2 separate regions of the Homo sapiens genome follow, and region 2 is linked to region 1. The links are contacts of gene promoters, found by promoter capture Hi-C in blood cells and fetal thymus (Javierre and others, 2016). All regions are on one chromosome and are shown on one strand. The core of a region is centred on a gene start or on the middle of the fragment in contact, and the rest is flanking DNA. Distances in the headings are between cores, read along the strand shown. Region 1 holds the start of MPZL2 (myelin protein zero like 2). Region 2 overlaps KMT2A (lysine methyltransferase 2A).

Evidence for each region. Contacts are between HindIII fragments. The CHiCAGO score rates a contact against its expected background, and 5 or more counts as called.
Region 2: a fragment that was not itself captured here is called in contact with the fragment with the promoter of MPZL2 in region 1 in 2 of 17 cell types (naive CD4 T cells and total CD4 T cells); the score reaches 5.6 in naive CD4 T cells.

What each region holds. Positions count from the first base shown.
Region 1 is chr11:118,261,642-118,266,274 of GRCh38, forward strand. It overlaps MPZL2 (myelin protein zero like 2), which reads right to left and starts at 2,656. Exons shown (of 6, transcript NM_005797.4): 1 at 2,455-2,656; 2 at 1,290-1,456; 3 at 797-1,007. The coding sequence starts at 2,512. RefSeq lists an enhancer at 2,408-2,457. The HindIII fragment of the contact is 8,608 bases long and covers 1-4,633 here.
Region 2 is chr11:118,492,864-118,497,496 of GRCh38, forward strand. It overlaps KMT2A (lysine methyltransferase 2A), which reads left to right. Exons shown (of 36, transcript NM_001197104.2): 16 at 194-367; 17 at 1,425-1,535; 18 at 1,831-1,904; 19 at 2,837-3,030; 20 at 3,398-3,504. Among named protein-coding and RNA genes, the nearest start is that of TTC36, 32 kb to the right of the region's middle. The HindIII fragment of the contact is 3,432 bases long and covers 411-3,842 here.

The DNA.
Region 1 (4,633 bases), core at 1,406-3,905:
GCTGGTAAATGGTAGCAATGACTCAAACCCAGATCTACAATTCATAAGTTTCGTGTACTTTGCTCTTTGTTGCTTGGCATGGTTTTCCAGATTGTCCTTTATAGGGATGCAGACAATACAATGCACCAATTTAGAGCACAGTTTTAGATTCAAAGTTGATTGGGTTTGAGTCCTAAGTTACTCCATTTATCAGCTACGTGACTCAGGGCAAATGACTTAACCTCTGTGAGCCTCGTTTCCTCATTGGCAAGATGGGAGGCATTAAATGCACAATAAACTGATGAGATATGTAAAGATTAAATAAAATGTGTCATGTAAAGCCCCTGACATTTGGGAAGTACTCAGTAAGTGTTAGCTCCCATCATTAGTACCTGCCTCCTAGAGTGGTGTGGGGATTCAATGAGATAGTGTATGTCATGCACTTTTGACGGTGCCTAGCATTAGAGTAGGTACTCAATAAGTATCTCGAATAAATGAGTGAGTGAACAGACCTGTTGTAAGCCTTTCATCAAAGAATTGCTCCCTCTCCCTTTCACAATCTCAATGCCATTTTTGTAACGGATTCTCTGAGTTCCTTTGCTTTACTTTCTGTTTCTTTCCACAGCCAAACAAAGCCTTTCTCTTTTTACCCCAGAACTCTTCGGTCTCCCTCTGAGGCTCCCAGTTCTGAAGGGCTAGTCCCTCTCTCTATCCATCACAAAAGATTGTCCCTCTCTCTCAGCCTTAACAAAGATTGCCCCTTTCTTTTCTACAAGCTCTCATCCTTTCCAAAACCACTGTTCCCTGCATAACCTACCAGTGTGCACGACGCTGAGCCGGATCTCCCCTATCACCCCATCAACATCAGGTGGGTTCTTCACCTGGCAGGTGTATGTCCCATTGTCGTCGAACTGCAGTTTCCAGAGAAGGATGGAGGCATCGTACCGCTCAGGATTCCCATCCCAAGACACCCGGTCCTTAAACCGCCCACTCATGGGTTGGAAGGGATCTATGTGGTAGTAGAATACCTAGAGAGGGGAAATGGCAAAAGGTCTTCTTACTCAGCACCCAGGCAAGGAGGCCAAGATGGTGGGAGCGGAAGTGAAACACCAGCAAACCCAACTGTCCTGTCTGCAGCTCTGTCACTTGCTTTCCCCTTCAACGGCCTCTCAGTCTCTGTCCCAAGAATTGTTTCCGAGCTTAACCTTGTGCTTGCTGCTAAGAAAAATACTGGAAGGGAAAGGAGAAATGGACTGGCTTATTATTTCCCTAAACAAGAGTACCCTGGAAAATGATGATAATCTACTTACAAACTGCTCAGGTCCCCCGTCTAGAGGACGAAAATTCCAGGTCACTGTTAGAGCATCACCCACAGGGGCAAAGCTGGAGAAAGTGCATTTTAACCGAGCATCTGTCCCATTAACAGCCTCCAGCACCCGGGAGGTATAAATTTCCACAGCTGCTATAGGCCAAAGAGCTGCAATGAAAAAGAAGAAAAAGAAGGGTTAACAGGGGATGTAGTATTGTGAGAACTTCTGCTGACACTTCCAAAATAAATATCTGAGTAGGACTTAAAGTAAAGTGAAACTGAGATGCCCCATCTCCCAAACTTACTTCACCCAGAATCTACATACTCCTACCTGTATGCAGCCTGGACCCTCCCATTCCATGTGACAACTAAACTACCACACAGCAAGCCTTCGCAGTGCTTTTACTTTCTCCACAGCATTAAAGCCTCGCCTCGTGGTACTGACTTCAAAACTGTTATAACAAACTACAAACATCCGCAAATAGAATTGAAAGCATAAACAAAAAATTAAAATGAATCATAACATTGATTAGACATTACATTATGTATTAAGGTTAAGCATTATGTGTTGTATGTAAAGTGGTCTCCTAGCAGGTAAGTTTTCCAGATGGGTCCTTAGGTGGATTTCATACTGTTACTAGTCTATTGCAGAAACTGAATTAATCAACTCCAGACAGCTTATGTTTGCCTGCACCCCTAGAACCTTTGTACCACGTGGCATTTTTTTAAACTTGATATTTACATTTAGAATGTGTGTGTTGGGGCACTTTCAAAATCACAGTAGGTCTCTCTCTAACAATCTCCACTTTCCTGGTGTTGCTGAGAGTCACAGACAAGACCCACACACAGAAATCCAAATGCCAAGTCCTGCCAGCAGTGGGAGGTTGAGAACAGCCACACACAAAAAAATGGCATGTAACCTGAGATTAGAAAGCCCTCTCTGTGCCTGAATCACTGGCAGCTGAACACACCTAAACCTGTTTGTCCGAGAGCAGTTCTCCAAAAACAGTCCACCAACTTTGGTTTCAGTAAAACCCAAAGTAAAACAAACTGTATCTGTGGCTCAGGCTCCCAAACAAAAGTCTTGCAACTTCTAAGACAATTAGCTAACTTTATAGAGTGAGCAGTGAAGGAGGAAACTCTGAGAGAAGCCCGCCGGCTCTTACCTGTGAGCTGTATGCCAAGGAGAAGAAGCACCGCACGAGTAGAGCTCTTGCCATACATGAGGGAAACCCAGCCTTGGCCCCAGAGACCGGACGGGGCAGACCGAGGGCTCCAACACCCTGCCAAGGCCACTCCGGGAGGAGCAAGCACCGCGTTTTCCCAGAGAGAGGAGTTTGAGTTGAGTTCCTCACCTGTGCCTGTGACTCAGCCCGCTCTGCCTGTGCACTTTTCTGAAATGAAAGGTGGGGCCTCAGCTCCCAATGCCCTCCTTCCTTTCCTCTCTCCCGCCCTCTACACGAACGAGCATGAGCACGTCTGCACAAAGGTCCCAAACTCCCGCAGTCCTCTCTTTACTTTCAGTTAATCTGACTGGGCTCTGGCCTCTAGATGGCCTCGGAAACAGCCAGAGGAGGTGGTGCCAGTCTGAAATGTCCCAGACTGTTATGGGTTTGGCCCCCACACGCCCTTTTAAAACAGGCTTTAGGCTTGCCTGGGAAGTGAATGTTGAAACTGTCCTGCAGTGATTCCACTTCTCAAAGCACCACCCCAGGGCCACATTCACTTGGGACTGGATTCGATACAATTTCAAAACGGGAGTCGGAATTCCTTAGGACCCTCTGTGGACAAAAAGCTGATACCCCTGTTACCACAAGGATTCCTGCACTTCTTCTAGTTTGTAGCTTTCCAGGAGACCTGGCAGAAACAACAAATCAAATCTCCATGCTTAACAATCCTTTACCTTTGAAGACTTTAAAAACAAATGAGGACACCATCCCTGCTCATTCACCCTGCCATCCGAGTGCAATCTACAAAGTGCTCTCCTGCTGATTGTTTCATCTCCATTAACGCCCTTGTGAAGCATTCCCATTCTACCAGTGAGGACGCTAAGAACCCGAGGAAGGTAAATGATTTGCCCAAGGTTGCACAGCTACCATGTGGCAAAACCAGAACTTTTCTTAAAAATCTAGCGTTCTTTCCACCAAATAACAGCTAATATGAACAATCAGACATGGGGCTCTCAAGGAAAAGGTTTTCATGATAACTTTGTTGTGCCTCGGATTTCATCTGTCATTTTTTGAATAGCTAAATGACTGAGAAGTCTAAAGAGCTGAGGAATCTAAACGAGAAAAGATGCCTCCTTGTCTGGAAAGAGGGTGGGTCATCTTTACAGATTAATGAAGCGGCACAGAAACATCGGTAGGAGGGGGATGAAGATTACACATGCAGTTAAGAAGTAGGCTGGGCTGGGAATCTAACCCTGAAAAAAGACAGATTGCGTTTATCCCTGGATTAGCAGTCTAGAAACTCTTCAGTCACTCATAAAATCTTCTAGCTGAATCCAGAGCAGAAAGGGTGGCAGGAACAAGAGAAGGCGGCAGGCTGAGTAGAAAAAAATAAAACATCATAAAGAGGGAAGAAAAGAGAAAATTCTACCAAAAGAGAGGAGAATGCAGAAGTGCAGAAAACAGAAAGCAACAGGAGAAAGATGACATGGGCATGGAGCAAAAACAGGTAGACAACCACAAAAATCCATTGTGTTGGAACTCAGAAAGCAGAGGTGGCCCCAAATGCAGACCAGCTGTGTGCTAGTGAAAATCTGTTGCATGGTGAGAGTTTCTGAAAACTGTGTGGCGTCTTTGTCAGATTCTAGTTCAGAAAGGGACCTAAAATCAGTCTGCTGGGGGAACCTTTCAGATGTTGGTGAGGAAGGATAAGATACAGCCTTTCTGGTATGTAGGTCAGAAGAGTTCAGCTCCAGGACCCTGAAAGAAAAAGAGTTAAGGAAACTTGATCTTGGTTGGCTTCCAACTTTGCAGGGAAATACAGCTACAGAGGAAGGAGAGGTAGAGCCAGGATTTTGAAGTCTACAGCAAATTGCAAAAACTGGTGAGAGGTAGAGTTACCAAAGAGCTCAGGGATGCAGTGAAAAGCAACAGGAGAAGAATCAGGGCAGGAAGAACTGAACAAACTGCCTGTTGTCAGGAGCAGAAATCCCTCCCCCAGGTAGCCAAACACCCATGAGCTGGTTGCCAGCCTTGCTCTGAGGGGCAGGAGTTATCCAGATCCCACTTCTCAGCTGAGTTCAAGTTCCTGGCTTAGTGCCTGGCAACGCCCAGTTCCTTCCAGTTAGCAGGAGTGGCTCCACAGTCAACCACTTCACCTCACTGGGCAAGGAAGAGG
Region 2 (4,633 bases), core at 877-3,376, 230 kb after region 1:
ACCCTAGCTAAGCTATTACATAACAGTCTCATTTTTAACTTTCCTTTTCTATTTGAGAAATCTGATTATTTTCATGTTCCTTGGGTTTTACAATATTAATCATTCAGTACCATCTTTATTAATTTTAATAGAATTTACATGGACACCTTGGTTTTAGTGTTAGATAAAAGCAACATATCTTTCCTGGCAATAGGCTGCCAAGCCTCCAGACTTAAATCCCGAGACAGAGGAGAGTATACCTTCCCGCAGCTCCCCCGAAGGACCTGATCCACCAGTTCTTACTGAGGTCAGCAAACAGGATGATCAGCAGCCTTTAGATCTAGAAGGAGTCAAGAGGAAGATGGACCAAGGGAATTACACATCTGTGGTATGTTTCTACAGTGAGCCATCAGAATTTCTAGTGCCAATAAAGCTTCTTTGGACCTTTGGGGCATGAAACTGAGTATAAGTAAATTTAAAAATGAATTGTATTATATTTAGAAATGTCACGTGGCTTTAGATACCTAAAAATGTATGAGTTATTTTAGCTTTGTGTTTCAGAAGAAGGGTTGTGATAGGGAAGATAATGTCTTAAAATAGTTCTTTTATTTGGCTTTCATCTCAGTTTTCTGAAAATTATTTTTATATTAAGAGGAAGCACTAAGAAACTGTTGATGTGGGAAATGCTAATATGAAATTAATTGGTTCTCCCTCCCCTTTTGAGATCAGATCTGAATAATGTGCCTTTCTTTATAAGGTCTTCATTTGTAGATAGATGCCTGTTAATTTTATGATTTTAAGTATGTATAGGAAATGATTATTTATTATCTCATGATCTATATTTGCGATTCTGTTGTTTATTTTTATTTATTTATTTATTTATTTGAGATGGAGTCTCGCTCTGTTACCCAGGCTGGCATGCAGTGACATGATCTCGGCTCACTGCAACCTCTGCCTCCCGTAATCAAGTGATTCTCCTGCCTCAGCCTCCCAAGTAGCTGGGATTACATAAGCATGTGCCACCATGCCTGGCTAATTTTGTATTTTTGGCGGAGATTGGGTTTCACCATGTTGGCTAGGCTGGTCATGAACTCCTGACCTTAAGTGATCCACCCACATCAGCCTCCCAAAGTGCTGGGATTACAGGCGTGAGCCACTGTTTATTTATTTTAATCCAAAATAAAAACTGTGGACCTGCTTGGATAATTTATCATGATACAGCCAATTTGTTTGCATTCTTACCTCATTAGCCTGGCATCTCTTAATTGCCACAGGTTAATCGTGAATTGAATCTCAAAGGTCTCAGCCAAAGAGTATTATACCACATTAAAATAGGGTGTGAGTTTTCTGTTGGATCTCTGTGCTGGATGATTAAGGAGGGAAGAGGAAATGGTTTTCAGAGCACACTGTTTTAAGAATAATTAACATTTTGTTTTTGTATACAGTTGGAGTTCAGTGATGATATTGTGAAGATCATTCAAGCAGCCATTAATTCAGATGGAGGACAGCCAGAAATTAAAAAAGCCAACAGCATGGTCAAGTCCTTCTTCATTCGGGTGAATGATATTACTAATTCATGTTTTTAATGCTTACCTATAAGTAATTACCCTGTGAATACAATGAACTTGTTCTCTTCTACTTTTTGCTTTGTGGTGTGTATAAAACATCTTTGGTTTAATTTGATCCCCTGATTCTTTGAGAGGAACTTGGTGAGGTTGCCAGAGTGGATGGATCTTTCTCTTGGTGGCCTGAAATTATCCTCGTATTAACAGAGAAGCTGGTTTGAAGATTTTTCATGTGGTATCTAAATGAGTGTTTACATATTTACATTTTGTTTGTGTTTTCTTTTAGCAAATGGAACGTGTTTTTCCATGGTTCAGTGTCAAAAAGTCCAGGTTTTGGGAGCCAAATAAAGTATCAAGCAAGTAAGTGAATTTAGCATAACTTTTTTTTCTCCTCATCGGCTAGAAATCTGAGAGTTCTCATATTTCTAGATTGCAGTTTTCCAAAAGGTTTTAATACTAGAAATGAATTGGTTGAAATGCCTTTTCGGTGTGGTTTTGAGGACTACATTTAATGTTTGTTATAAGCAATTGCCTTTTTGTTCTTTACTTTTATATTTGTTTTATTGTAGGGAGCTTGGTTTAATTGTGACAAATGTACAATACATGTGTGGTACAGCCATGTAGCTGGCCTTGTTATAAATGGGTTCTGTTTGACTGATAGTTCAAATGGTGCTTTGTACTGCTCTTGATTTTCCATATGTAACCTTTAATTTTTATTCCAGTAAATTCTTTTGATTTGATTTTATTTATTTATTTATTTTTTTTTTTTTGAGACGGAGTCTCGTTCTGTCACCAGGCTGGAGTGCAGTGACATGATCTCGGCTCACTACAACCTCCGCCTCCCTGGTTCAAGCGATTCTCCTCCCTCAGCCTCCCAAGTAGCTGGGAAAACAGGCGGGCACCACCATGCCCAGCTAATTTTTGTATTTTAATAGAGACTGGGTTTCACCATTTTGGCCAGGATGGTCTTGATCTCTTGACCTGGTGATCCGCCTGCCTCACCCTCCCAAAAGTGCTGGGATTACAGGCATGAGCCACCATGCCCGGCCTCTTTTGAGTTTTTGATAGGGTTATCATTTGTTTCAGCAAGTTTAACCAAGAGTCATATGTTGAGATATTTTTTAAAATATTGAGTTCTGTGTACTTCAGCAATTTTCAAACGCTGTGACTTGTTCTTATATTCTGTGAATGGCTCCTACATGGGGCAACAGGTGATATCAAGAATTTATTTTATACAGTTCTAGGTATACTGTAGGAGTTCAATAAATGCTTGTTGAATCAATTATTTTCAGCAGTGGGATGTTACCAAACGCAGTGCTTCCACCTTCACTTGACCATAATTATGCTCAGTGGCAGGAGCGAGAGGAAAACAGCCACACTGAGCAGCCTCCTTTAATGAAGAAAATCATTCCAGCTCCCAAACCCAAAGGTCCTGGAGAACCAGACTCACCAACTCCTCTGCATCCTCCTACACCACCAATTTTGAGTAAGCCACCAAAAGGAGAGTCGTCACCCATTTCCCTCTAGATGCAGATGATTGACTTCGTGAATCCAATTCACTAAAATTAGATATACTTGGATATCAGAAAGGAATTTTCAGGTCATCCTTAAATGTAATACCATCATTAATTTTGCTTCACTTGAGGTGTTAATGAGGACTTGATATAAATACTCTGGAGTATTGTAACATAGATGATGAGGTAGCGTAACTCTGAACACTTTTTGAAAAGTGGTTATTTTATAGGCTGTGGGCTATGTAAGCTGAATTATTTCTTTTTTCCTTGAAATCAGACATAGTATTGCCAATTTTAACTGGATCTCAAGGTATTGATGGGAGTCTTTTGGATTTCAAGGTACTGATAGGAGTCGAGAAGACAGTCCAGAGCTGAACCCACCCCCAGGCATAGAAGACAATAGACAGTGTGCGTTATGTTTGACTTATGGTGATGACAGTGCTAATGTAAGTACTTTGCAACACAGGGCCCTAGTTAATACATACTCCAAAAGAACTGTTTGTCCTTGTGTCCATACTTGATGACTGGGTGCCATTTATTTAATGAACTTACTTATAACTTACTAATTTATAACTTTTATTTACCTATAACTTATAACTTATTAATTTGTAACTTATTTTTTGTCACTTAGTTCATGGCACTTGGAGTTTTTTAATGACTGATTTTGTTGATTAAAAGGTGACTGATTTGCCTTAAATTAAACCCTTGATGTCTAGTAATTTCTAATGGAAGTTCCTCAAGAATATTTTGTGAAAGTTAATAAAATCTAAGTTGCATATTAAAAAGCTTGTGTTTCATATAGGATAGCAGAATCGTTAAGAGCCCGAGTTCTGCCGCCTGCCTGAATACATTTCTGTGCTTAACTGCCTACTTATTGACTTTGGCAAGTAGTTTAACCTCTCTGACCCTCAGTTTCATCTTTAAAATGAAGATAATAACGCTTACCTCAGAGTGGCTGTGAGGATTAAATGAAATAATGTATGTAAAGCCTCTATTTGGTGCCTGGCACACACAGTAAGCTACAATTTTTTTAAAAGTTTTTTGTGTTTTTTGTTTTGTTTTGTTTTGTTTTTTTGAGCGGAGTTTCGCTCTTGTTGCCCAGGCTGGAGTTTCGCTCTTGTTGCCCAGGCTGGAGTGCAATGGCGTGATCTCGGCTCACTACAACCTCCGCCTCCTATGTTCAAGCAATTCTCCTGCCTCAGCCTCCCGAGTAGCTGGGATTACAGGCATGTGCCACCATGCCCGGCTAATTTTGTATTTTTAGTAGAGACGGAGTTTCTCCATGTTGGTCAGGCTGGTCTCAAACTCCCGACCCCAGGTGATCCACCCACCTCATATCCCAAAGTGGTGGGATTACAGGCGTGAGCCACCGTGCCCGGCCAAAAGCTTTTAAATACCATCTGAGAGAACTGGCTTTGAAATACAGTTTATAGATGTCACTGCACATTTTTATAAACTTACCACCTATTGCTCTTTTTGTTTGTTTCCTTTTGAGACCAGGTCTTGCTCTGTCACCCAGACTAGAGTACAGTGGCATGCTTTTGGCTCACTGCAATCTCGGCTTCCGGGGCTCAA